6 separate regions of the Homo sapiens genome follow, and regions 1, 2, 3, 4 and 5 are each linked to region 6. The links are contacts of gene promoters, found by promoter capture Hi-C in blood cells and fetal thymus (Javierre and others, 2016). All regions are on one chromosome and are shown on one strand. The core of a region is centred on a gene start or on the middle of the fragment in contact, and the rest is flanking DNA. Distances in the headings are between cores, read along the strand shown.

The links. Contacts are between HindIII fragments. The CHiCAGO score rates a contact against its expected background, and 5 or more counts as called.
Region 1: the fragment with the promoter of MRGPRD here is called in contact with the fragment with the promoter of CCND1 in region 6 in 1 of 17 cell types (monocytes); the score reaches 5.1 in monocytes.
Region 2: a contact is called between the fragment with the promoter of TPCN2 here and the fragment with the promoter of CCND1 in region 6, in 7 of 17 cell types (activated CD4 T cells, non-activated CD4 T cells, total CD8 T cells and 4 more). The highest score is 8.9, in activated CD4 T cells.
Region 3: a contact is called between a fragment that was not itself captured here and the fragment with the promoter of CCND1 in region 6, in 1 of 17 cell types (M1 macrophages). The highest score is 5.4, in M1 macrophages.
Region 4: a contact is called between a fragment that was not itself captured here and the fragment with the promoter of CCND1 in region 6, in 16 of 17 cell types (naive CD4 T cells, activated CD4 T cells, erythroblasts and 13 more). The highest score is 16.0, in naive CD4 T cells.
Region 5: the fragment with the promoter of MRPL21 here is called in contact with the fragment with the promoter of CCND1 in region 6 in 3 of 17 cell types (megakaryocytes, M1 macrophages and total B cells); the score reaches 7.1 in megakaryocytes.

What each region holds. Positions count from the first base shown.
Region 1 is chr11:68,978,178-68,982,581 of GRCh38, reverse strand. It overlaps MRGPRD (MAS related GPR family member D), which reads left to right and starts at 1,596. Exons shown (of 1, transcript NM_198923.2): 1 at 1,596-2,561. The coding sequence starts at 1,596. The coding sequence ends at 2,561. RefSeq lists an enhancer at 2,107-2,616. The HindIII fragment of the contact is 14,944 bases long and covers 1-2,899 here.
Region 2 is chr11:69,047,052-69,050,926 of GRCh38, reverse strand. TPCN2 (two pore segment channel 2) reads right to left here and starts at 1,995. Exons shown (of 25, transcript NM_139075.4): 1 at 1,821-1,995. The coding sequence starts at 1,929. RefSeq lists silencers at 1,568-1,667, 1,748-1,917, 2,038-2,257. The HindIII fragment of the contact is 3,554 bases long and covers 1-2,255 here.
Region 3 is chr11:68,947,177-68,951,300 of GRCh38, reverse strand. No RefSeq gene overlaps it. Among named protein-coding and RNA genes, the nearest start is that of MRGPRD, 32 kb to the left of the region's middle. RefSeq lists an enhancer at 3,802-4,124. The HindIII fragment of the contact is 1,232 bases long and covers 2,240-3,471 here.
Region 4 is chr11:69,090,173-69,094,312 of GRCh38, reverse strand. It overlaps TPCN2 (two pore segment channel 2), which reads right to left. Exons shown (of 25, transcript NM_139075.4): 25 at 3,716-4,140. Among named protein-coding and RNA genes, the nearest start is that of MIR3164, 9.1 kb to the right of the region's middle. The HindIII fragment of the contact is 2,289 bases long and covers 662-2,950 here.
Region 5 is chr11:68,901,271-68,905,426 of GRCh38, reverse strand. It overlaps MRPL21 (mitochondrial ribosomal protein L21), which reads left to right and starts at 1,595. Exons shown (of 7, transcript NM_181514.2): 1 at 1,595-1,704. The coding sequence starts at 1,617. IGHMBP2 (immunoglobulin mu DNA binding protein 2) reads right to left here and starts at 1,536. Exons shown (of 15, transcript NM_002180.3): 1 at 1,389-1,536. The coding sequence starts at 1,474. RefSeq lists enhancers at 1,054-1,113, 1,444-1,563, 995-1,722. The HindIII fragment of the contact is 5,018 bases long and covers 1,140-4,156 here.
Region 6 is chr11:69,638,435-69,642,701 of GRCh38, reverse strand. It overlaps CCND1 (cyclin D1), which reads right to left and starts at 1,546. Exons shown (of 5, transcript NM_053056.3): 1 at 1,191-1,546. The coding sequence starts at 1,388. RefSeq lists enhancers at 573-1,275, 2,783-3,721, 3,722-4,267. The HindIII fragment of the contact is 14,749 bases long and covers 1-4,267 here.

The sequences.
Region 1 (4,404 bases), core at 347-2,846, 660 kb after region 6:
TAATACCTAGAAATACAAGCAACTCTTGCAAATCAGAAAGGAAAAGAAAAGAAACCCAATTGAAAAATGGACAACAGGTGTGAACAGACAATTTGAAGAAGGGGAACTCCAAATGGCTAACAGATATATGAATTGATGCTCAAACTCACTGTAATCACAGAAATGCAAGTTAAAACATCTACAGTATATCACTTTGCAACCATCAGGTTGGCAAAAGTTAGAAAAACAAATAACACCAAGTGTTGGTGAGAGAATGGGAAAACGTAAACATTCCTATTCTGCTGGTACAGGTGAAACCTGAAGCAGCCACTCAGAAAAAGAATTACCAGGCAATATTTAGTGAGACTAAATGTGCATATGTTCTATGACCGAGCAATCCTCCTCCAAGAATGTATCCCAGAAAAATATTGAGTCAAGTCCAATGGGTACATGCATGAGGATGTCCAACACAGTGTTTTGGTGATAATGGGAATTTTGAAGCAAGCTGAGGATCCACAGTAAGGAATGGATAACAGATCAATGTGCATGATGACATTTTAAACCACAACTTTTGCATACAGCCACCTGGATATATCCTACAAACATATTGTCAAGTGAAAAATAAAAAACCCATCATTAATTCTAAATCACAACATTTACGTAAATTTAAAACACAATGGGCAACCACTCCATCTTGAAAGATATTGAGGTGTCCAAGGATTTGCGTGAAACAGGTTGGATGGATGCAAGCGGCAGGAGGAAAAAGGCAGCTAAGATGGGATGGGGAAGGAAACTTGAATAAATGGAGGGTTTTTAATGGGCTGATGCTCATGGTGTGTCTTAAACTAAGGAGTGTAGTTAATTCTACACTTTGCCCTGAGGTCTAATTTTTTTTTTTTTTTAAGAGACAGCATCTCGCTCTGTCTTCCAGGCTGGGGTGCAGTGGCGGGACCATGGCTCACTACAACCTCAATGTGCCAGGCTCAAGCGATCCTCCCGCCTTGGCCTCTCAAGTAGGTGGGACCACAGGTGTGTGCCACCATGCCTGGCTAATTAAAAAAAAAAATTGTAGAGATGAGATCTTGCTATGTGGCCCAGGCTGGTCTCAAACTCCTGGCCTCAAGCAAACCCCAAAGTGCTGGGGTTACAGGCATGCACCACCACGCCCAGCCCTAAGGTCTATTGTTTTTTTAATTAACTCACAGGGTTTGACAATTACAGGAGAAAAAAAAAATGATTTCAAATGTTTCTATCAAATAGTTTTTCTACATCTATTGATAATAATGATTTTTCTATAATAGATGTAGAAAAAGCATTTGATAAAATTCAATACCTCTCCATGATTTAAAAAATAATTCAAAGCAAGATAGAAGAGAATTTTTTAACCTGATAAAGGGTATTTATAACAGCTTTGTAGCTATAAAGGTGACCCTGGAGGCAGATCTGGGCTGAGTGAGTCACAGGAGTGGGGGAAGGTTAAGCCTCCCGGTCATGGTCTGTTACATAAAGAACCTGGAGGGGAGAGCTCTGAAGCTGGAAATTCGAGGGGCACCCAGGGGTCCCCCGTGGTCCCAGCAACACAGAATTTCACATTGGTACATCTTCCTCTCGTAGGGATGAACCAGACTTTGAATAGCAGTGGGACCGTGGAGTCAGCCCTAAACTATTCCAGAGGGAGCACAGTGCACACGGCCTACCTGGTGCTGAGCTCCCTGGCCATGTTCACCTGCCTGTGCGGGATGGCAGGCAACAGCATGGTGATCTGGCTGCTGGGCTTTCGAATGCACAGGAACCCCTTCTGCATCTATATCCTCAACCTGGCGGCAGCCGACCTCCTCTTCCTCTTCAGCATGGCTTCCACGCTCAGCCTGGAAACCCAGCCCCTGGTCAATACCACTGACAAGGTCCACGAGCTGATGAAGAGACTGATGTACTTTGCCTACACAGTGGGCCTGAGCCTGCTGACGGCCATCAGCACCCAGCGCTGTCTCTCTGTCCTCTTCCCTATCTGGTTCAAGTGTCACCGGCCCAGGCACCTGTCAGCCTGGGTGTGTGGCCTGCTGTGGACACTCTGTCTCCTGATGAACGGGTTGACCTCTTCCTTCTGCAGCAAGTTCTTGAAATTCAATGAAGATCGGTGCTTCAGGGTGGACATGGTCCAGGCCGCCCTCATCATGGGGGTCTTAACCCCAGTGATGACTCTGTCCAGCCTGACCCTCTTTGTCTGGGTGCGGAGGAGCTCCCAGCAGTGGCGGCGGCAGCCCACACGGCTGTTCGTGGTGGTCCTGGCCTCTGTCCTGGTGTTCCTCATCTGTTCCCTGCCTCTGAGCATCTACTGGTTTGTGCTCTACTGGTTGAGCCTGCCGCCCGAGATGCAGGTCCTGTGCTTCAGCTTGTCACGCCTCTCCTCGTCCGTAAGCAGCAGCGCCAACCCCGTCATCTACTTCCTGGTGGGCAGCCGGAGGAGCCACAGGCTGCCCACCAGGTCCCTGGGGACTGTGCTCCAACAGGCGCTTCGCGAGGAGCCCGAGCTGGAAGGTGGGGAGACGCCCACCGTGGGCACCAATGAGATGGGGGCTTGAGAGCCGCCCACAGGTGCTTCCCACCTGTGCGAGCCCATGCCCTGGAGATTCCCGAGCCGTGAGCTGCCTCCCACCTCGTCCCTGCCAAGTGTCTGGCCCGCCTTCTTGGGGGAGCCCCAAGGACTTTGCAGCTGCATGTGGGGGTCACTTCCCTGCATGTCAAAACTCCCCACAACACCTGTGTCCTGGATCTCACAATGCAACCCCGCTGGAAGATGCAATTTATTTGTTTATAGCAGATTATCTGGTTGGGGGAAAATATTAGCTTTTAGCCCTACCCTGCTTTAAGCTGGTTATCTATGGGTGGATAACAGGAATCTCATTTGAATATGAAAGCTTTCTCCCAACCACCTTCTCTGCCTAAGACGGCATCTTTGTGGAGGAGGCAGGTGACCTCGGGTGATCTTTGGCCCTATGCTGGTCCTTGGGTGGCATCAACTGGCCACCAAGGTGGTGCCCCCGTGCACCTTTCCCCAGGTGTGCCTGAAGTCTGGCAAGTAAACGGTGTCGCCATCGCCGACCCGGATCTCGCTGGCTGTGGGCCATGAGACTCTGCCCCACCATCCCTCTGACCCCTGGCCAGCCCTTGACCCCTGGCATTTGCTATGAGGTCGCCTTACCCTGTCACCCCTCGCACCCAGGGCAGGCCTGTTCGCTTTCCTCCAGGCCGCACTGGGAAGGGAAGAGCCTCTGCCTGGCTTCACTGGCAGTCACTCCAGCAGATGCTGATAGGACAGTGCCCCAGGCAGTGGAGGGCAGCCTTCCAGGCAGTGTCCCCCAGAGCCAGAGTCTCATACCTCACTGACTGTCCCTCCCAGGGCCCCCTCACTTTGCCCAAAAGCCCAAAGACGGAACATCTGGGACACACATCAGCTGGCTCCACTCTCCTCCCTCCCCCTTTCCTTCCCACAGTCCCCTGGGTCCAGAACAAGGCAGATGTTTCCTGCACTTTCCACAAATCACAGCCCTTTCCTACCACCCAGCATCCAGCCTCGAGGCTCGGGGCTTGCATGGAGGGGGTGCAAGACAGGAGGTCCCTGCAGAGTCAGTCCTGGACTTAAAGAGGTGAGGGAGGAGGAAAGACGGAAGTGGAAAGATCCTGTCTCCAGACCACAGCCTGGCCTGCAAGCCTGGCACCTGGCTGCGTCATCCTGTTTTTCATGTCAGAAGGTGAAAATGATCTTGTTCTTTCTCTTGGCATCTTTCTGAAGCAGTTTTCAGTCTCCTCCCAAAAGATGGAGCCTTCGAGCCAGCCAGGGCACAGGTCAGATCCTGAGACAGGAGAGGACAGCTCATCAGTAAGCTATAAAATACACCCCTGGAATCAACTCTCACAGCCTGCGGTTCTGTGCCGTGGCAGGTGATGGTGTCCTGGGGACTCGAAGACTGTGCCCTGGACAGGACTCCCCTTCCTGGGCTCCCCCTGTTTGTTCATTGCCCTGGGCTGGGGGCTGTGCAGCCCTCCCAGAAGGAGAAATTACCTCTGAGTGCTTTCCCACCTAGGGCTCAGGCCCCCAGGTCTGTGTGTCCCAGAGAAGCATGCGAGGCAGAGTGGTGGCTCTTTCTCAGTCGTTCCAGCATTTAGCGGAGCACTTGGTACCAGCACTGGCCTCAAATGCCAGATGCACTTAACAAGTGCTCATTTGGCCAGTAAGAGTAACTGATGCCTGTACAGTGCTTTACAGCCCACGTTTTGTCCAGGATCCAACCCATATCTTCTGACTACAAACCCCATGCTTCACAACCCTTCTCCAACCTGGGCAGCCACGAGGTGGCCCAGTCTAAAGCCGACGGTTGGTAGGAAGAACATCTCGCTTCTTAGCACTCAGTGGCTACCACAGGG
Region 2 (3,875 bases), core at 746-3,245, 590 kb after region 6:
CATAGGGACAAAGAGCGCTCCCCGAGAGCCTCCTCTTGTCAGCCACACTGCCCAGCAGAGCGGGTCTCACCTGCCAGGGAGGACCTGCAATGATCACAGAGCTTACCCAGGACGGCCACTGGCCCCCACACCAGCCCGCCGGGCCCTGTGCTGAGGACAAACTCTGGATTCTCTCTGAATCCTCACAATGCCCGCCAGGCAGTCCTTAGTATTATCTCCCTTTTACTGAGATTCGGAAAGGTGAAGCATGGCCAGGCACAGTGGCTCACGCCTGTAATCCCACCACTTTGGGAGGCCGAGGCAGGCAGATCACCCGAGGTCAGGAGTTTGAGACCACCCTGGCCAACACAGTGAAACCCCATCTCTACTAAAAATACAAAAATTAGCCAAGTGTGGTGGCGGGCGCCTGCAGTCCCAGCTACTTGGGAGGCTGAGGCGGGAGAATCGCTTCAACCCAGCAGAGGTAGAGGCTGCAGTGAGCCGAGATCACGCCACTGCACTCCAGCCTGGGTGACAGAGTGATACTCCATCTCAAAAAAGAAACAGAAAGGTTAAGCAACCTGCCAAGGTCACACAGCCAGTGCAGCCCCAGAAAGGCGCCCAGACCCCTAGACACAAAGTCTGTGTTCCCTGAACGGTGCCATATGCTGGGCGTCTCATCAAGGGGCCTGCCAGAGCTGCTCCCTGCAGATCTCCTTCCTGACTGGTCCCAGGAAGCACCTGAAGAACTTCCTGGAGGCAGCTTCTGAGGTGAGCAGACAGGGTGGCCACCTTGGCCTCTGGTTTTTCATCTCTCGTCAGGGTCCCCTCCTTGGCCCCTCATTACTCCATGGATGGGCACATGCCACAGACCAGTGGGTGGGCACCAGGATTCCAACCCAGTTCCTTCCAGACAGAGGAGGAAAGAAGGAAAGAGAGGCCAGAGAGGGAAGGAGCCAGGTGTGAATTCTCAGAGTGGTTCGAGCAGCAGCCGCACCAGAACAGAGGGCTGTGACCTTGGGCAGGTCTCAGGGCCTCTCTGGGCCTCAGTTTCCTCATCTGTGAAGTGAAGCTAAGGTCCTTCCACCTCTTAATCCAGAATCTCATTCCCCTGGTGTCAGCGAGGGGCGGACGCACCCCACCCTCGGGGGGCGGATTCAGCAATCTTCAGACCAGGACAAAAAACGGGAAGGGCAGGAGGGAGTGCAGAGGGGACTCTGGGGTGGCAGAGGGCAAGGAGAGGAAGCCGCCCCCGTCTAGGGGGCCCGCCCCAGCCCCACGGGAAGTGGGACGGGGAAAGGCACCCTACAAAGAAAGGACTCCTAGCTCCCAACTGGTTCGAATCCCACCTCGGCCACTTACTGGGTGTGTGACCTTGGGTAGGGTAACGCCTCTCTGTGAGCCTCTGCTTTTTCCAGAAGAAACGGGAAAAATCAAAGTGCTGCCTTCTCTGAGTCAATTAGGCGACCCTCATTACGGCGACAGTCGGGAAGTATGGGGTCTGGGCCCGCCCGGGCACACGGAGGGTGCCTGCCGCAGGTGGCCGGTTCCCTCGGGGCTGCCCAAGGCTGGGCGAGGGCCTCTTCGCCCAGCTGGTCGGGATCAGGACGCGACACGGAAGAGACCCCAGCTCTGCCCTGACCCCGGTCCGGGTCCGCAGGACGCAGCCCACTCGCCCTCAGAACACCGGCTCGCCTGGCACCCGGCGCGGCCCGGGCCCCGCTCGGACTCGAACCTGGTGGGGGCGCGCCCGGCAGAAAGCGGGGTGCTGGGACAGCGGGACCCCCACGCGCGACCCTGGTCTCCCGGGCCAGTCCCCTCCCCAGGTCCGGGCGGCTCACCAGGGCCGACTTGGATGCTGCGGTAAGTGGTCAGCCCCGCCGGCCAGTCGCCGCCACCGCCGCGGGCCCCGCCCAGCAGGGGCTCCGACTCCGCCTGGGGTTCCGCCATCCAGCAGCCCACGCGCTGGACCCGACCCTCAGAAGCTCAAGCCCCGAAGGCGCCCAGCTTCACTGCGCAGGCGCGGAGACCCCGTCCCTGGCGTTTTTGCTGACGCGCGCACGGCACTGTGGCGCAGGGGATCCCTGCAGTCCCAGCCAATGAGAACGGGGAGGGAGGGGTGGGGTTCTCCTGAGTGGGGCGGAGCTAAAGGGCCCCGCCCCTCTAGGGTGGAGCTCAGCTTCGTTCCACCCAGGGCGGGGCAGCGTTCTGGGGCTTAAGGGCCGAGGGCTGGGGAGGAAATATGTTCTCAAAGGATGTCTTTCCGGCCAGAAGCTTCAGCATCACCTGGAAACATTTTAGAAATGCAAATTCTTGGGCCCTTAAACCTACTAAATCAGCAACTCTGCGGGGAGGACCCAGGAATCTGTGTTTTAACAAGCATTCGGGGTGATTCTGATGCATGTGAGTATTGAGTACACGGGGTGACTGCAAAGGACTCCCCCCAGAATGGAACTGGAGTTTACCCTCTGATGGTGAAATTAGGAGGATTCAATATCATTAAGGGAAAAGTTTAAAAACATATGACACACTTAAAAAATATTTACAACGTATATAAAAAGTGTTTTCAACATTAATGCATAAAGACCTTGTATTCGTTTTCTATTGCTACAGTGACTAATTACCACAATCTGAAAATATAAAATAACTCCCATTCATCATCTTTCAGTCCTGCGGGGCAGGAAACCTCCTGTCTCAGGGCCTCACGAGGCTAGAGTCAAAATGTCAGCTGCCGTGGGCTCTTATCTGCAGACTCTGGGGAAAGCCCACTTCCAGGCTCATCCAGGATGTTAACAGAATTGTCTCCATGGGCCTAGGACTGAAGTCCACGTCTTCTTGCTGGATGTTGGCTGGTGTCATTCTCACTCCTAGAGGCCACTGCATTCCTTCCACGATGGCTTGAACACCTCCATCATCAGAGCCAGCAAGCAAGAGCACGCTGAAGACGCTTCGAGATGCAGCAAGACGCCTGTAATCCCAGCCCTTTGGGAGACCGAGGCAGGTGGATCACGAGGTCAGGAGATCGAGACCATCCTGGCCAACATGGTGAAGCCCCGTCTCTACTGAAATACAAAAAGTTAGCCAGACGTGGTGGCACGTGTCTATAGTCCCAGCTACTCGGAGGCTGAGGCAGGGGAATCGCTTGAACCCGGGAGGCGGAAATTGCAGTGAGCTGAGATTGCGCCACTGCACTCCAGCCTGGCAACAGAGCGAGACTCCATCTCAAAAAAAAAGGTGCTGCAAGACGCTTCCAATCTCTGTGACTTCCCCTTCTGCCATACCTCTTTACTTTTTCCCCCTCTTTTGGGGAGGGGGGAGGGTTTAAAATAAATATAAAATTTACCATCATAACTGTGAAAGGAAAATAAATCTCAGGACTCCAAAATCACTAAGCCAAAGGGAAAAGTCAAGCTGGGAACTGCGTTGGGCAAACTGCCTCGCCTTTTCTTCTTTAATAAAATAGCTACGAAGATTTAAAAAGCTACATACCTCCCTCACAATTTGCCCGCTAGGAAATTTTTCGTGGGCACCCAAGATCTTTACCCTAAAACAGTTTTGTTGAATTTTACCCTAACAATGTACATTGACAACTGATCTTCACAGGTTCCAAACAAAGGATGGAACTCTAAGTCATCCCTCTGCTCACCTGATTGCTTCCTCTGGTATAAAAGTGCAGATTCACCGAGCCAGACTAAGGCATAAGTGACTATTCCTCTACCCCCGCAACCTGTAAATTGTGTATTTCAGTGAAAGTCTGATCAAAGACTCACAAGAATGCAACCTTTGTCTCTTATCTCTCCACATATTTTTAAAATTTCTCCCTCTTTCCCAATATCCACCCTTTCCCTTTTTTTTTTTTTTTTTTTTTTTTGAGACAGAGTCTTGCTTCGTTGCCC
Region 3 (4,124 bases), core at 1,606-4,105, 690 kb after region 6:
AGGTCCACCTAGAATAGGCACAGGTCAAGGGGATAGGCTTGCCGTGACTGGCTGAAACCCCCAAAGGCCATTCCCTGGAGCCACACACCACACCTGGAACCACAGCTGGGTTCTCCTGGCCGGGCTGATGTCAGATGTCTCCCCCAGCAACCAAGGTGCAGAATGTACCAAGGTGTCATGACCTCTGTCAGAGAATCACACAGTTCTCCCAGCAGACAAGCGGGTACTGACACCTGTCATGAGACAGAGCGGGCCTGTGAGAGGAGGAGCTCGGCCCCTGTCCGGCTGACCCAAGTGACAGGAGGAACTCCGACCCTATCCGGCTGACTTTGAAAGGGCCAGGCTGAGAGCTGCATCCACCGCTGCTACAATGAGGACAAAGAGCTCCTACCCCAGGGGGGCTGCAGCCTTCCCTGCTTCTGCTCATGGCGAGGGGCCCCAGGTCTCAGTAGAACTGTCTGGTAGATGCCAATCAGCCTGACATCACTAGAAAACCCGGAATTCTGCATATACATGCATTTCCAGGAGTGTGGGACTTCTGGGTAGCATATGTGCATTAAACAAGAAAGAAATACAATTCTTATTATTAAGAACATTTGGACAGTGCTTTGTGAGCCATTAAAGTCACTCGTCCCCCAAGCCGGAAGCGTGGGGATCTTCCCAGCCCCTCACCCCTGCAGGAGGCCAGTCTGCAAGTTCTGATGACTGAGCCCATGCATAGTCAGCAGATGCGCCCCTGTGTACCCCACCTGACTCTGACTTCTCCAGACTATAGCTGCTGGCAGGTTTTCCACCTCAGACACCTCCTCAAGGCAGCCACCAGAGGGACTTTTCTAAGACACAAACTGGGCCAATTTCCCTCTCCTCACTGCCCAACTCTGGCTCACCCCAGCCCACAGCCACCGAGACCACACAGGCCTGGGATGGAGAAAGAATGTGGAGGACCCCAGACCCACTGGAAATCTGGCCTTTCCTTGGCACTTGCTGAAAAATGGGAGCAGCTGCGACCCCATCAGCTGCCTAACTGGAAAACCAGCAGGAATTGTCCTGTTCTGATTATAGAACCAACATTCATCATTGGAGAAACTTTTTTTTTTTTTAGCTATAAACGAGAGACCAAGAATCACACCAAATCCCAAAGATCAGAGGTGTTTACAATGGCCATATGCCTTTGTATCTTTTCTTTTTCTTTTTTTAATTTTAGAGCCAAGGTCTCACTATGTTTACCCAGGCTGGCCTGGGACTCCTGGGCTCAAGCGATCCTCCTGCCTTGGCTTCCTGAGTAGCTCGGACTACAGGTGTGCGCCACCACACCCAGCTCCATCTTTTCTATGCATATATGTGTGTTTGGCGTACGTTGAGCATGCTGATTTTGTAGTTTTATATCCAACTTTTGTCATTAAGCACTAACATTAAATGATTATGTAATATAATGTGATTATAAAATGATTCTACTGGTTGTTTACAAAGTATCTGCAAAGGGCCAGGTGTGGTGACTCACGCCTGTAACCCCAACACTTTGGGAGGCTGAGGTGAGAGAATCACTTAGCCCAGCAGACCAGTCTGGGCAACAAAGACCCTATCTCTACTAAAAATTTTTTTAAAAAATTATCTGGGCATGGTGGCATGTGTCTGTAGTCCCAGCTACTCAGGAAGCTGAGGTGGGAGGATCTCTGGAGCCCAGGAGGTCGAGGCTACAATGAACCGTGATTGTGCCACTGCACTCCAGCCTGGCCAACAGAGCAAGACCCTGTCTCAAAAAACAAAGTCTCTGCAAAAGATAACTTAAATATTATAGAGCAACAGTCTCCAGCCTTTTTGGCACCAGAGACCGGTTTCGTGGAAGATAATTTCTCCATGGGCCAGGCCGTGGGGCGGCAGGGGGAATGATTTCAGGATGACCCAAGCGCATGACATTTATTGCACACTTTATTTCTATTATTGACATTGTAATATATAATAAAATAATTCTACAATTCACCATAATGTAGAATCAGTGGGAGCCCTGAGCTTCTTTCCCTGCAACTAGACAGTCCCATCTTAGGGTGATGGGAGACAGTGACAGATCATCAGGCATCAGAGTCTCATAAAGGAGCACGCAGCCTGGATCCCTCGCATGCGCAGTTCACAATAGGGTTCGCGCTCCTATGAGAATCTAACGCCGCCGCTGATCTGACGGGAGGCGGAGCTCGGGCGGTGACGCGAGCAGTGAGGAGTGGCTGTAAATACAGATGAAGCTTCACGGGTGCACCCACCACTCACCTCCTGCTGTGAGGCCCAGTTCCTAACAGGTCATGGACCCGTACCCCTGGGACCCCCTGATCTAGAGAAACATCCATGTAAAGTTAGCGGATTGAACACACACATCTACATAAGGCCACTAAATAAATTGATGCCACAGAATCACCTAAAGGCTCAGGAACTGGGGGCCTTGGGAGCCCAAGAAGTGGGGTGGGAAGGAGCTAAAATAAGGCGGGTGGATGGAAGTCTTTAAAAGAAGCAATCAGTCATGGAGACAGAAAATGAACAGAGATTCCAGGGGCTGGGGGGTTGGTATTTGATGGGGATGGAGTTTCCATGTGGGAAGATGAGAAAGTTCTGGAGACAGATGGTGGTGATGGTTGCACAATGCTGGGAATGTAAGGGATGCCGCTGAGTTGTACACTTGCTTACACAATGGTTAAAATGTTAAATTTCATGTTATAGATATTTTACAATTTTTATGAAAGCAGCAGCAATCAGATCTTCTAATCCCATCTGCTACTCAGAGAAGCCTCCTCCTCTACTCTGAGAAAAGACCAAATACCCGACTAGGCTCTGCAGTGGGTAAAACAGAATGAGTCTGCCTGAGGGTCCCAAGGCATAGCTGGGCGGGGGAACCCCGTACTGAGTGGAGGGTGAGTAAGCAGGTGTATGAACAGAGACTGTGATTGCAACCTGGCACATCCAGGGGGAAAGACTTCTGGTCCCTGGCTCAACGGCCGGGCAGCTGATGCCTCAGTGAAGCCCACAGTCAGCGAGCCCTCCGCACGGTCTTGGAGAGTCAGTCCCTGGCTGATAGGAGGGGACAACTACCAGAATCTGCAGAAAGCCACGATGCGAAAGGCAGACGGAAGCCATTTGTAATCGAAACACTGCAGGAAAAAGAAAGCAGCAAACAATACAAAACCACACCCACAGACAGAAAAGAGAAGACGCAGCCCCACAGGGAGAGCACTGCAAAAAGGGACATGAGGGAAGGGCTCTTCGATGCTGAAAGGAAAATGGTGTGAATTTTTAAAACCTAAACAAAAATAAAATGGTTGGAAAATAAGGCTGAGGAACATCTCATTGTTTAAAAAAGGAAGAGATGGAGAGATAGAAAACAGGAAAAAAGATGTAAGAAGGCCAGAGGCAGTGGCGCACGCCTGTAATCCCAGCCCTTTGGAAGGCTGAGGCAGGTGGATCACTTGAACCCTGGAGGCTGAAGCTTCAGTGAGCTATAATCGCACCAGTGCACTCCAGCCTGGGTCACACACTGAGACCCTGACTCAAAAGCAGCGACGGCCTGGTGCGGTGGCTCACGCCTGTAATCCTAGCAGTTTGGGAGGCCGAGGCGGGTGGATCACTTGAGGTCAGGAGTTCGAAATTAGCCTGGCCACATGGCAAAAACCTGTCTCTACTAAAAGTATAAAAACATTAGCTGGGTGTGGTGGCGGGCACCTGTCATTCCAGGTGTAATTCCAGCTACTCGGGAGGCTGAGGCAGGAGAATCGCTTGAACCCAGGAGGCGGAGGTTGCAGTGAGCTGAGATTGCGACACTGCACTCCAGCCTGGGCAACAAGAGCAAAACTCCATCTCAAAAAACAGCAACAACAACAAACCCAGAAACTGATTCTCTCTCTTCAAGATAAAATCTCGAGGGGCGGCCCTGTCCTGCCACTTCCAGCTTCTGGGGGCTCCACGTTCCTTGGCCTGTGGCTGCACCACGCCAGCCTCTGCCTGTGTTTGCAGGCAGCCTCCTTCTCTTCTCACATGTCTCTTAGACGGACACCTGTCATTGGATTTAGGGACCATCCAGGTAACCCGGGATGATCTCCTCTCAAGAACCTTTACTTAATTACATCTGCGAAGACTCTTTTCCC
Region 4 (4,140 bases), core at 557-3,056, 550 kb after region 6:
AGGGAACCTGGGAGAGGAACCTGATGGCCACTGAGTGCTCCCACTAGTGATACCAGGCCTGCGGGGCCGGCAGAACTGCTGCTCTGGTCAGCCCTGTGCTTGAGCCCTGGGGGCAGAGGACCTGCCAGCCCGGCCCTGCCCAGCCCTGCCAAGCCCCGCCCCACTTCTGCCCCACTGCTGCCCCTGGCACTGCACCTCCTGCCACTGCCCAGCAACGTCCCTGTGGCTGACCCCTGCCTGGCCTCCTCATTCCTGCTTTGTCACTTCTCTGGCTCTTCCCTGGGTCTTCCACATCAGTCCACACAGGATCCTCCCACGTGAAAACCACCACAATATCCTCTTGACCCCGCCTCCCCTTTGCAGCGAGATTCCCTGAGGGCCGTCCATCCTCACTGTCTTCAGTGCCTCTCCTCTCGCTCTCCTTTTAATATTTGGCACATGCAAAAGAACACATGTAACATGTGCATGTTCCTAAGGTTAATACCATGACCATGAGCCCTGCCCAGCCCCGCCAGGACAAGAACTTCCCCTGGAACTTGCTCATGGCAGTCAGTCCCTTCCCATCCCATCCCCATTTCCCCAAGAGGTGGCCGCTCCCTGGACCATAGGCTTCTGGCCATCTTGTGTTGAAGTAATCTCAGCACTAACCAGACCATAAGCTTCTGGCCGTCTTGTGTTGAAGTAATCTCAGCACTGACCGGACCATAGGCTTCTGGGCGTCTTGTGTTGAAGTAATCTCAGCACTGACCAGACCATAGGCTTCTGGGAGTCTTGTGTTGAAGTAATCTCAGCACTGACTGGACCACAGGCTTCAGGCTGTCTTGTGTTGAAGTAACCTCATCACTGATGTATGCGTGCCTACATGGTATGTTGTTTAACCTTGCTTTTGAATTTTACATGAATAATACCGTGCCGTGTGGAGACTTCTGGAACTTGTTCACCCAACATTATGTTTCTAAGATTCTTCCAGGTAGCTCTTTGCAGCTGGAGTTCATTCATGTTCACGGCCGTGTAATACTCCACTGTCACCAAGCTGCAGCGTACCTGTCATTCTGTTGAGGACGTTTCAGCTGGCAGATGTGTTGCTAGTACTGATACTGCTCTTAGGATCACTCTGCCGACCGTCTTCCAGTGCACACGGGCAGCAGTTTCTCTTGTGAGTGTATCTAGCAGAGAATTACCAAGGTATGTCCTATTCAATTGCAAGAAATGACACCAAACAATTTTCCAAAGAGGTTGTTTCAGCTTAGCTTGACTCTTCAGAATAAACATGTAAGTACTAACAATTAAGATGGTCCAACCTCTTCCATTTTGACCATGGAGTGAGTGAAATGTTGTGTTTCAGTTTCATTTTGCATATTCCTAATAACTAGTAAGACGGAGCAACTTTTGACATAGCTATGGAACCCGGGTGTTTGCTTTTCTGTGAAAAGCCCAACTTTCTACTGCTTTGTCTTTTTCTTCCTAATTTGTAGGTACTCTTTATGTGGTCTGGATATAAGTTCTTAGTTGTTCTCAGTTACCAAAATCTTCTCCCAGTGTGTGGCTTGCCTATTTTATGGCCTTTTTTAAAGAAAGAAGTTCTTAATTTAAATATATTGAGTTCATCTTCTAAACGTTCTAAAACTTGCTTTTCACACTTAAGCCCGCCTCCAGTCGGTATGTACTTTTGTGTTAGGTGTGAAACAGGGAACTTATTTCTTTCTTTTCCCACCTGGGCTGGAATTTCTGGCAGCATTTATTAAATAACAATCCCTTCCCTGCGGGTTTGCTGCCATCCGTCGCAGTTCCGCATTTGTGCAGGGCTCCCGGGCTCTCTCCCCTTAGCCGATCCGCCCCTTGCGCCGGTGTGCGGGGCTCCCGGGCTCTCTCCCCTTAGTAGATTCGCCCTTGCGCCGGTGTGCGGGGCTCCCGGGCTCTCTCCCCTTAGCCGATTAGCTCCTGCACCAGGACCACACTGCTGTGGCTGCTGTCCCAGCAATGTAAGTCAGGAATAATGGAGCAGCAATTCCCTCAACTGGATTCTCCCACAGAAAGGATTTTTGCTCTTGTTTTTGTACTTTCATGTTAATTTTTCAATCAACTTATCAAATTTTGTGGGAAAAAAATGGCATTATGTTTAGAATTATAATGAATGTATGGATGAAATTGGAGAAGGCTGACATTTTTACAATATCAATTCTTTTTGACCATGAAGATAGAAAAACTGTGGTGGCCAGAATTCCAAGATGACCCCAGTGATCCTTACCCTTACATAATCTCCTCCCGTGAATAAGTCACTCCCGGAATTGGGATATGTTAGGTGGCACACAGGACTTTTAAGGATGGGCAGTTGTCCTGGTGGGTCTGACCTAATCAGGTGAAACTGTAAACCACACAGGCTTTTCCTAGAGATTCAAAGGGTGAGTGGGAGTCAATGTGAGGCAGCTTCTTTGTTGCTGACTTTGAAGATGGAGGGGACCCTATGGCAAGGAATGTGGGTGGCCTCTAGTCCCTAAGAGCAGCCCCTGGCTGACAGCCAGCAGGAAACGGACATCAGCCCAACACCTGCAAGCAACTGCATTTGGCCAACAACCCAAGTGAGTATGGGAGCAGACTCTTCCCCGGAGCTCCCAGAAGGAACCCAGCCCACTGACACCCCAATTTCTGCTGAACGGAGGACCTACCAAGCCGTGCCTGGATGTCTGACCTGCAGCTTGGAGCTAAGAAATGAGGTTGTGATAAGCTACCAAGTATGTGGGGACTTGTTACACAGCAACAGAAAACTACATAGTCTCAATTTACTTGTATCTACAGTCATGGGCTTTAATGAAGTTTTATAGTTTTCTGTATATAGGCCTTGAATATCTTTCCTTCCATTTATTTTTAGAAACTTTAAGAATTTTTAATCTTATTTAAATATCTTTTAAAAAATGAATATAACTGAATCCTTGAATATAATTTATAAGCTTATTGCTAGTGTCTAGAAAAGCAATTGATTTCAGTATATAATCTCAGGGCAGGCCAGGTGCAGTGACTCACACCTGTAATCTCAGCACTTTGGGAGGCCAAGGTGGGAGGATCACTTGAGCCTAGGAATTCAAGAATAGCCTGGGCAACATAGAGATACTCCATCTCTACAAGAAATAAAACAATTAGCCAGACCTGGTGGCATGTGCCTGTAGTTACAGCTACTCAGGAGGCCAAGGTAGGAGGACTGCTTGAGCCCACAAGTTGGAGGCTGCAGTGAGCCATGATCACACCACTGCACTCCAGCCTGGGTAACAGAGCAAGACCCTAAAATAAATAAATGAATAAGTAATAAAGTAAAAACTTTTTAAATCTCATAGCAAACAACTGTGCTGAATTCTTTTTTTTTTTTTTTTTTTTTTTTGAGACGGAGTCTCGCTCTGTCGCCCAGGCTGGACTGCGGACTGCAGTGGCGCAATCTCGGCTCACTGCAAGCTCCGCTTCCCGGGTTCACGCCATTCTCCTGCCTCAGCCTCCCCAGTAGCTGGGACTACAGGCGCCCGCCACTGCGCCCGGCTAATTTTTTGTATTTTTAGTAGAGACGGGGTTTCACCTTGTTAGCCAGGATGGTCTCGATCTCCTGACCTCATGATCCACCCGCCTCGGCCTCCCAAAGTGCTGGGTGAATTCTTACTATTCTTAATAATTTTGGCTTTTCTATGTAGACATCATATTTGAGAATAAAGCATTACGTTTCTTCTATTGCTGTTTTTATGTACTTACATATTTATTGCATCTTAATGAGGCAGGACCCTCAGCAGCATGTAGATTTTGCTGTTGCTGATTGTAAAGGCCCTGACAGTGACAACTTCCATTTGGAAAGCTGTTTGCTGAAGGTTTTGGCAGCAGGGCGTCCACACAAGAGGGGTACACAGTGTGGGAGTCAAAGCCCCAGTCGGATGAGCAGGGCATCTCTGTGGGGAGTGGGTGGCAGTGATGGGAGGCTGGGGACATGCAGGAAAACTGACCCAATAATAGATTAAGGAGAATGAGAACCATTCCCAGAAAGGGCCTTACAGCTATGGAAAGAGAGAAAAACTGGAACGTACCCTGTGGTGCTGGGCTAAAATCGGAGGTATTAGTATCATTCCCAGCTGTGAATAGATGAGACAGAGAGAGAGATGGAAGTAC
Region 5 (4,156 bases), core at 346-2,845, 740 kb after region 6:
TTCATTCTCAGAGCAAGCCTGTGAGGTGGGAATCATCCCAGTTTTACAGATGAAGTAAGTAAGGCTCAGAGACAGAACCTGCAAAGTCACACAGCCATAAATGAAACAGCTGGGATTCTAAGAAACTCAACATAACTGCAAAAGCTCTCCATTGCCATGATCAAAAGCATCTCAGACAAATCCTACCCACATATGGCTGACTGCAAACTCTGGAAGCAGACTGCCTGACAGCAAATCGGGCTACACTGTGTCACCCCGGGGCAAGTTACTTAACCCCTCTCTGTCTCCATCTCCTTAGACGGAAAATGACAGTAACAGAAACCTACACTGCGGCCGGGCACGGTGGCTCACGCCTGTAATCCCAACACTTTGGGAGGCCAAGGCGGGCAGACCACGAGGTCAGGAGATCGAGACCATCCTGGCCAACATGGTGAAACCCTGTCTCTACTAAAAATACAAAAAATTAGCAGGACGTGGTGGCGCGCCTGTAGTCCCAGCCACTCAGGAGGCTGAGGCAGGAGAATCGCTTGAACCCGGGAGATGGAAGCTGCAGTAAGCCGAGATCGTGCCACTGCACTCCAGCCTGGGCGACAGAGAGAGACTCTGTCTAAAAAAAAAAAAAAGAAAAAGAAAAAAAAGAAACTTACACTGTAGGGTTGGCATGGGATGAGGTGTAAAAGAATTAACGCATGGAAAGTACGTAAGTGTTAGCTCTGATTGTTTTGGACAAGTAAATAGTCCCATTCGGAAACAAGCCCGGCTCTCACATGGCTCCCCACACCTCTCAGGACGGCTCCCCACCCTACTCCGCACCCACCAGCTTAACTCCAATTTTCCTTCAGGCACCACTCCCTCCTTGAAGCCACCATGACCCTCCCCAGGGAAGGGCCTTCCTCCTCCAGGCTCTTTCCCCGCGACACGCACGCAGCCGGCCCTGGACGCACTGGAGGGGAAGGGACTCTCTGCTTATGCCCAGCCCGCCGCTGGCCGGATCGGGGGCAGCCAGTGCACCTGACTCATGCTGCCGGGGCCTGACTGAGAATGGGCGCAAACCATGTTTACTGAATGAATAAGGGAAAGGGCTGCTAACTCGCTGCGGGTGGAACTGGGGTCGGGGCCAGGGCCCAGGAGTGTAAGCTTAGTGGGGGGTCTCGGGTCGGGAAATCAAAGTGCTTCTTAAGGGTCCCCAAACGGAACGCGCTGCCCAGGAAGTGATGAGACTGACAACTCGGGAGGTGGCCAAGCAGGGGACGGACGATCCCTGCCCCTGACTCGAAGGGTCGGAGACGAAATTCCCGCCCCAGACTATGAGGCCGAGCCCCTCGGAGACTCTGCCCGGGACACGGCGGGACCGACCGCGAGGGAGCGGCGCCGGCGGCCTCCCGTACCTGCGCTCCTCCACCTCCGCGTCTCTCTCAAGCTCCAGCAGGTCCAGTTGCTTGGTCACGAAGCTCTCCACAGCTGCCGAGGCCATCGCCGCCGCCGGCCTGGGCCCCTAGAAGCCGACGTCCCGCTTCTGCGCCGGGCCGGTGTTACAGCGGACCGGTGTTCCCCGCCGGGCCCGTGCGTTACGCACGCGGTTCGCGTCGTTTCCGTTTCCGGCCGAGGCTGCGGCCATGGCAGCATCTTCCCTGACGGTCACCTTAGGGCGGCTGGCGTCCGCGTGCAGCCACAGCATCCTGAGACCTTCGGGGCCCGGAGCAGGTGAGACCTGGGATATGGGAGGAAGGGAGGACGCAGAGCGAGCGCTGCTCCCTGCGGTCTCGCCACGTATGTGCCTGGGTCCGACCTGGTGCCTTGTGTGTTGATCGCATTTGTGGTGAATATAGCACGGGTTTTGGAGTCGGGGGAACCCAGGTTCAGATTTTGATTCCTTCAGTTAGTAGCCTGAATACTGACAATAGCCCTTGAACTTTGGTATAGGCCCTATGTTATGGGGGAGAAGAGTGAGGCTCAGAGGAGCTAGGTAACGTGCCCAGGGTCACACAGCGGGGAAGTGGAAGAAGAGTACTTCAGGCGCAGTCATTTCGGCTCCAAAGCCTGTGCTTGAACCACTGCCCCCAGGCTGCGAGCTGGTCTGAAAAATGGTGATGGATATCCTCGCCTAATCTGAACTCATTCTGCAAAAGAAACAGCCGTATTTAAGGCGCTGGGCTGATACGAGGCTCCAAAAAGGTTATGTCCGTTAAAAACTCTATAAATCTCTGCTTGAAAATGGTTGGAGTGTGTATTTGTGTGCATGAGTGTTTATGTATGTTTTAAACCTGGGTTTCATGTCTCACCATGACCCCCAAAAATGGAAAACTGGATCTAACTCTATATTGGACGATATTAAAAGAATAGTACCATAATTCCCAAAACTTGGAAGCAACCCAGATGTCCTTCAGGAGATGAATGGTTACATAAACTGTAGGACATCCATACAGTAGAATATTATGCAGCAATAAAAAGAAATGAGTCATGAAGAGACATGGAGGAAACTTACATACATGTTACTAAGTAAAAGAAGCCAACCTGAAAAGGGGACATCTTGTATGTTTCCCACTATGACATTCTGGAAAAGGCAAATCTAAGGAGACAGTAAAAAGTTACATGGGGGGTAAGAGGATTGGGGGAGAAAAGGATAAATAGGTGGAGCTCAGAGGATTTTTAGGGCAGTGAAACTATTCTGTATGATATAATGGTAGATACATGTCATTATAAGTTTGTCCAAATCCATAGAATGTACACTACCAAGGGTGAACCCCTAATGTAGACTATGGACTTTGGATAACAATGATGTGTCAATGTAGGTTCATCAATTGTAAAGATTGTACCACTCTGGTGAGGGATGTTGATAGGAAGCTGTGGGCACATGGACAGGGGACATATGGGAACTCTCTGTACCTTCCACTCAATTTTGGTGTGAAACTAAAACTGTGCTAAAAAATAAAGTCTATTAAGAAATTAATAATAATCACAGAGTTGGGCCAGAGGCAATGTAGATGCCAAAATTGGCCATGAGTTGGTAACTGTTGAACCTGGAAAGGGATAATTGAGAGAGTTCACTATTCTGTTCTCTTTACTTTTGTATGCTTGACATTTTCCATAATAAAACTTAGGTTTAAGTAGGCAGGAAAGTTTTTACAAAAGCAGTGGGACTTACTCCATTCTACCTACCTACATGAAACCACCCCTCCAATGCTATGTTCAAGTACAGACTCACGCATTAGGAGAGAAAGACACACAGTGAAGCGAGTAGAGACAAGGTGACCAAAACAGTGAGCAGCTGGGGCCTTGAAGAGTGAGCAAAGGAGACGTGATGGAAGTACACAGTCACAGTCTCTAGGACTACCTAAAGGAAATCCTGTGGGAGAGGAAGGAGACTGTTTGTTCCCTGGGGACCCAAAAACAAAGCTAGAAGCAAATTAGGTACAGAAGCCTGCTAAGTTTTTAATAGTGGGATGGATTTGCCAATGGGTTGACTGAGTAGTGTGCGAGAGAAGAGTCAAAACTGATGGAGGTTTGGGGCCTGAGCAACTGGGAGGATGAAGTTGCCCTCATGTGAGAGGGAGGAGTGTGGGAGAAGCAGGCATGGGAAGAAATGAGGAGCCTCTGGAGGTGTGAGGTGCTCGTCAGACACGAGTGGCTAAGGCAGATAGATAGGTGGGTATGCAAAACCAGGAGAGAAGCCCTGGCTGGAGGTGTAAACTTGGGAGTCACCAGCACATTGGGGGTGTTTAAATCCATCGGACTGGATGCAGTCACCAGAGGAATGGCCATGGGCGGAGAGGAGGTCAAGGCCAAGGGTTGAGCCCCGGATGCCCAAATGGGAGAGGAGAGGAGAAAGCAGCCGAGGAGATGCAAATGGGGAGCTGGTGCTAATGGGTGAACTTTAAAAAGGTGGTTTTTATGGTGTGTAAATTATAGCTGAGTTTCTTTAAAAGTGGTTATTGAGAAACTGTTCTCTGCTTTTTACACCTAAGCACTTATTTTGATCCCCTGTCTTCTCAGTAGATTGAATGTCTTTGTTTCCTGGTGTATTCCTGGTGTATGCGTTATCTACGGTTACATCAGAAATTACCCCAAAACTTAGCAGCTTAAAACATTTATTAACTCACACCAGTTCTGAGAGCCAGGAACACAGAAGCAGCTTAAGTGGCTGGTTCTGGCTCAG
Region 6 (4,267 bases), core at 297-2,796:
TCGACACCAACTGGGGTGCGGGGCCGCGGAACGGGCCGCGGGGTTGGGCGCCGCGCCTGCGAGACACAAAGGTGGCGTCCCAGGCCGCCGCGCCGCATTTCCCCAGACGTCATCTTTTCAAAAAATATTTAAAAATATTAAAAAAATAACTAAGTGCATAAAAAAACCCTGAAAATGACCCTCGGGCGACCCTTTACCCAGGCCGGGGGTTGGGAGTTCGTTACAGGCTCCGGGGGGAGCCCCAGGAATTCAAACTCCGGGGCCCCCCCTTCCCCCTGGGCGCGGGCGGCGTTTCCCTCTCGCAAGGGCACCACGCCGCACTTTCAAAAATTATTTTAAAATACTTGCGGGCCCCTCAGGCGCCCACCGAAGGTCTGAAAATGTGCTCCCAGGCCCCCGGCTCGCTCGGAGAAGGTCCTCCAAGCCGATATCCCTGCAGACGGGGATCAAGCCCTGGCGTCTTGGGGGCCACGCGACCTTGCAGCTCGCCGTGCTCTCCGGCCCAGGCTGCCCGTTCGGGGCGCCCCGGGACTCGCTGCTTGAACAAAGGCCCCCCCTTCCCTAGCGGCGTCCCCCCAAAACTACCCATGCCGCGTCCCTGCGCCCCTCCCGCGGGCTCCCGGCAGCCGCGCGGCCCTTAGCTGCGGCCCCAGCGCCCGGCGGCCGCTCCCCGCCCCCACCCTGCCCCCAATTATTAATAAACACTTTTGCTTTGCAATAAAAGAGCAAAGATGGCGCATAATACTGGCACGAGCGGCCCTTGCATACGTGTCCATGGATATTAATTTAAAAATCAAATCTATGCCCCCTCCCCCCGGAGTTGGCGGCTCCCGGCCGCTGAGGCGCAGCCGGGCTGGGGCGCAGGCGGGGGACACAAAGCGCACCCAGCCTGCCAGCCCGCACCCTCGGGCCCATTGGGGTGCCCCTGGCACTGGCTTCTCCCGAAGGCACCCCTCCCGGACCCCCTTCTCCCCTCCCACGAAACGCTACTTCTAGCACCCCCACCCCCACCCCTTCCTCCTTCAGAAAATACCCGCAATTTTTATTTTGAAAATACGGATCCCTAGAAACACCACGGCAAACTTCAAAGTTCTAGCGGGAGAGAAGGGAGGGGGGTGAGTAGCAAAGAAACGTGGGTCTGGGCAACAAGTTGCAGGGAAGTCTTAAGAGAGCCGCCCGAAGCCCCGCACCTCCAGCATCCAGGTGGCGACGATCTTCCGCATGGACGGCAGGACCTCCTTCTGCACACATTTGAAGTAGGACACCGAGGGCGCGCAGGTCTCCTCCGCCTTCAGCATGGCCCGCAGCACCCGGTCGTTGAGGAGGTTGGCATCGGGGTACGCGCGGCGGATGGTTTCCACTTCGCAGCACAGGAGCTGGTGTTCCATGGCTGGGGCTCTTCCTGGGCAGCTGGGGAGGGCTGTGGGTCCTGGCTGGGTCCGCGCTCGGCTCTCGCTTCTGCTGCCCCGCGCTCCCTCGCGCTCTTCTGCCCCTCGCCGGAGCGTGCGGACTCTGCTGCTCGCTGCTACTGCGCCGACAGCCCTCTGGAGGCTCCAGGACTTTGCAACTTCAACAAAACTCCCCTGTAGTCCGTGTGACGTTACTGTTGTTAAGCAAAGATCAAAGCCCGGCAGAGAATGGGAGCGGGAGGGGGGCGGGGGCGGGCGCAGGGGGAGGGGGCGCGGGCGCCAAACGCCGGGAGCAGCGAGGGGCAGAGCCCAAAAGCCATCCCTGAGGCGCCGCGCCTGCCCTGCGGCGGAGTTGCCCCTGTAGTCCGGTTTTCATAGAAATGCAAATCGCCCCGCTGCAGCCTTTCTCCCCGCCAGGGAAGAGGGGTGCAGGGGGCCCCGTCCGCCTCGAGTGGGTCCCCCGGGATTTAGGGGGTGAGGTGGAGGTGGCTCTGCAGTAGGGGACAACTAGGAAGGCCGGCAGGCCACACGCAGCCTGGGGAGACCACGAGAAGGGGTGACTGGGGCGCGGCGACACCCCATATCCAAGCCGGCAGAATGGGCGCATTTCCAAGAACGCCACGAGGGCACCCACGGGCGGACAGACGGCCAAAGAATCTCAGCGACTGCATCTTCTTTCATTTTCATTAACACGTGTAAATTGCAAGAACTAATTTAGCATGCAAGGACGGGGAGGACCGGGCACACAACCCCTGTGCAAGTTTCATTCCGGCGCACAGGGGCGTCGTTGCAAATGCCCAAGGGGGTAACCCTAAAAGTTAAAGGGATTTCAGCTTAGCATGCGCTCGCTCAAAAAATAAAATAAAATAAATGCCCGAAAATTCCAGCAGCAGCCCAAGATGGTGGCCAGCATTTCCTTCATCTTGTCCTTCTAGCCTGGAGACTCTTCGGGCTGCCTTCCTACCTTGACCAGTCGGTCCTTGCGGGGGTCCCCAACTGCACCCCCTCCCTTCCCGTGCCGGCAATTTAACCGGGAGAAACACACCTCTGAATGGAAAGCTGAGAAACAGTGATCTCCATTCTGACTCATTTTTTTTAATTAAAAAAGAAATTAAATTGCTGGAAATATTAGTCCCCTCTGCCTGGGACAAGACCACCGAAGGTTCCTAATTGGTTTTGTTGGGGGTGTAGACGTCCCTTCACCTTTAGAATTTGCCCTGGGACTGAATTCGTGAGCGTGAGGGGGCTGGCAGGAGCCGGCATAATTCAGAACAATTATCAATTAAACAAACGAGTGTACTGATCTGATTTTTAGCAAAATCGATAGGTGTTCGTGGTTACATGAGAGGGTCCCCAATATTATCGCAAACTTAAGCAGATGTAAATTAAAATACACAGTTTTTAAAATTACAGGTTCTGTCTCTTTGGTGCATTAAAAAATAAAAGGACATTTTACTGTCTTAACTTTTGTTTTTATTTTTACAGTACCTGCCCCAAATTAAGAAAACTGTTCATTTACTTCCTTTTGAATATAGTTCAGTGTCATCAAACCACCGTACCCTCTTAACAGTAAAAGCTCAAAGAAAACTGATAGAAAAAGCCCTCTCCCCTTCGCCAGGGTGCTCACAGCAAGATGCGACCCCCCCCACCCCCACCTTTCAGGGTGAATTCCTCCCGCGCCCCCTCCCCCGCCGGGAATTAGGATTACTAATATTCCGGGTCCTGGGGGGGTAATTACCCCCGGATTCCGCATGGGGAGCGATGGGTTGCCCCAGCAGGGAGCACCTACGGTCGTGCCCCCCCCCACTCCCCGAGCACCCACAATCGCGTTGGCCCCCGCATAGCCAAGCCTCAGAGCATCAGCCCGCGCACAAGGGCGGCCCAGCTGCTTTTTCATTCATAAAATCCCGACCCGGCGGCCGCCTGGATGATTTATGGGGCCCGGAGCTATCACCCGGCCTCTCCCATCCCGTGGGGCGAGGGGCCCCGAGCCCCGCGTGCGCCCTGGCCCAGCCCGAGGCGCGAAGCGGGCCGAAGTCGGCTAGGGGCAGCAGGGCATAAAGAGGCTCGCCCACTCCGGCACAACCGGCTCTGGGTCCAGGAGGGAGCTTCACCCCCCCATCCCGGGCGCAAGACAGAGGAAACTGGAATTAGCATGAGCCAATGGGGGCGCGGCGCTGTTACTAGGCGGACCGGGCAGATCTCGACTAGGAACTTCGTTGATTTCCCGGCTCAGGGACGAGCGCAAAATTGCAAGCCCGGTTAGCGAGCGTAAAGAGCCGTCCAGGAACCCGCGGGGGAGGCGCTGGAATTTGGGGCCCGGCGCTGGAATTTGGGGCCCGGCGGGGAGCGCCAGCTGCCCAGCCCCCACCTGGGGGAACCCTGCTTGGCGGCCCCCGGGTCCCCCGAGGGGGCCAATACCTCTGGGCTTTTGAGGGTCATTGCTTCAAGAAGCGCAGAGAAAGCATTTTGATTTTATTTTTTCCAAAGAGAAAAGCAACTTTAAAAAACTTTTCGGTTGCAGTTTTACTTTACACTGTCTTCTTAAAACCCACCACGAAGCAGGAACTGCGGATTCTGGGCTCATTTAAAGTGCTCTGTTCTTATTTCTTGGTGACCATTTGGAGACAAAGGGCAAGTGGCCCAGTCGGGAGGGTAACCACGTTGTTTGAAAGAAAATCCAAAATTAACTGAAATCACCTTCACGCTTTCCTCGCCCCCTGGCCCCCGCCCCGGTGACCGCGGCCTGGGCGGATGGTCGGTCAGGAGAAAGCGAATTCCGCTGCAGGCGCGTGTTCGCCACCGTCCCTGGCTGTGGGAACCTTCATTCAGGCGGGGGAAGGGAGCGCGTTCATTCA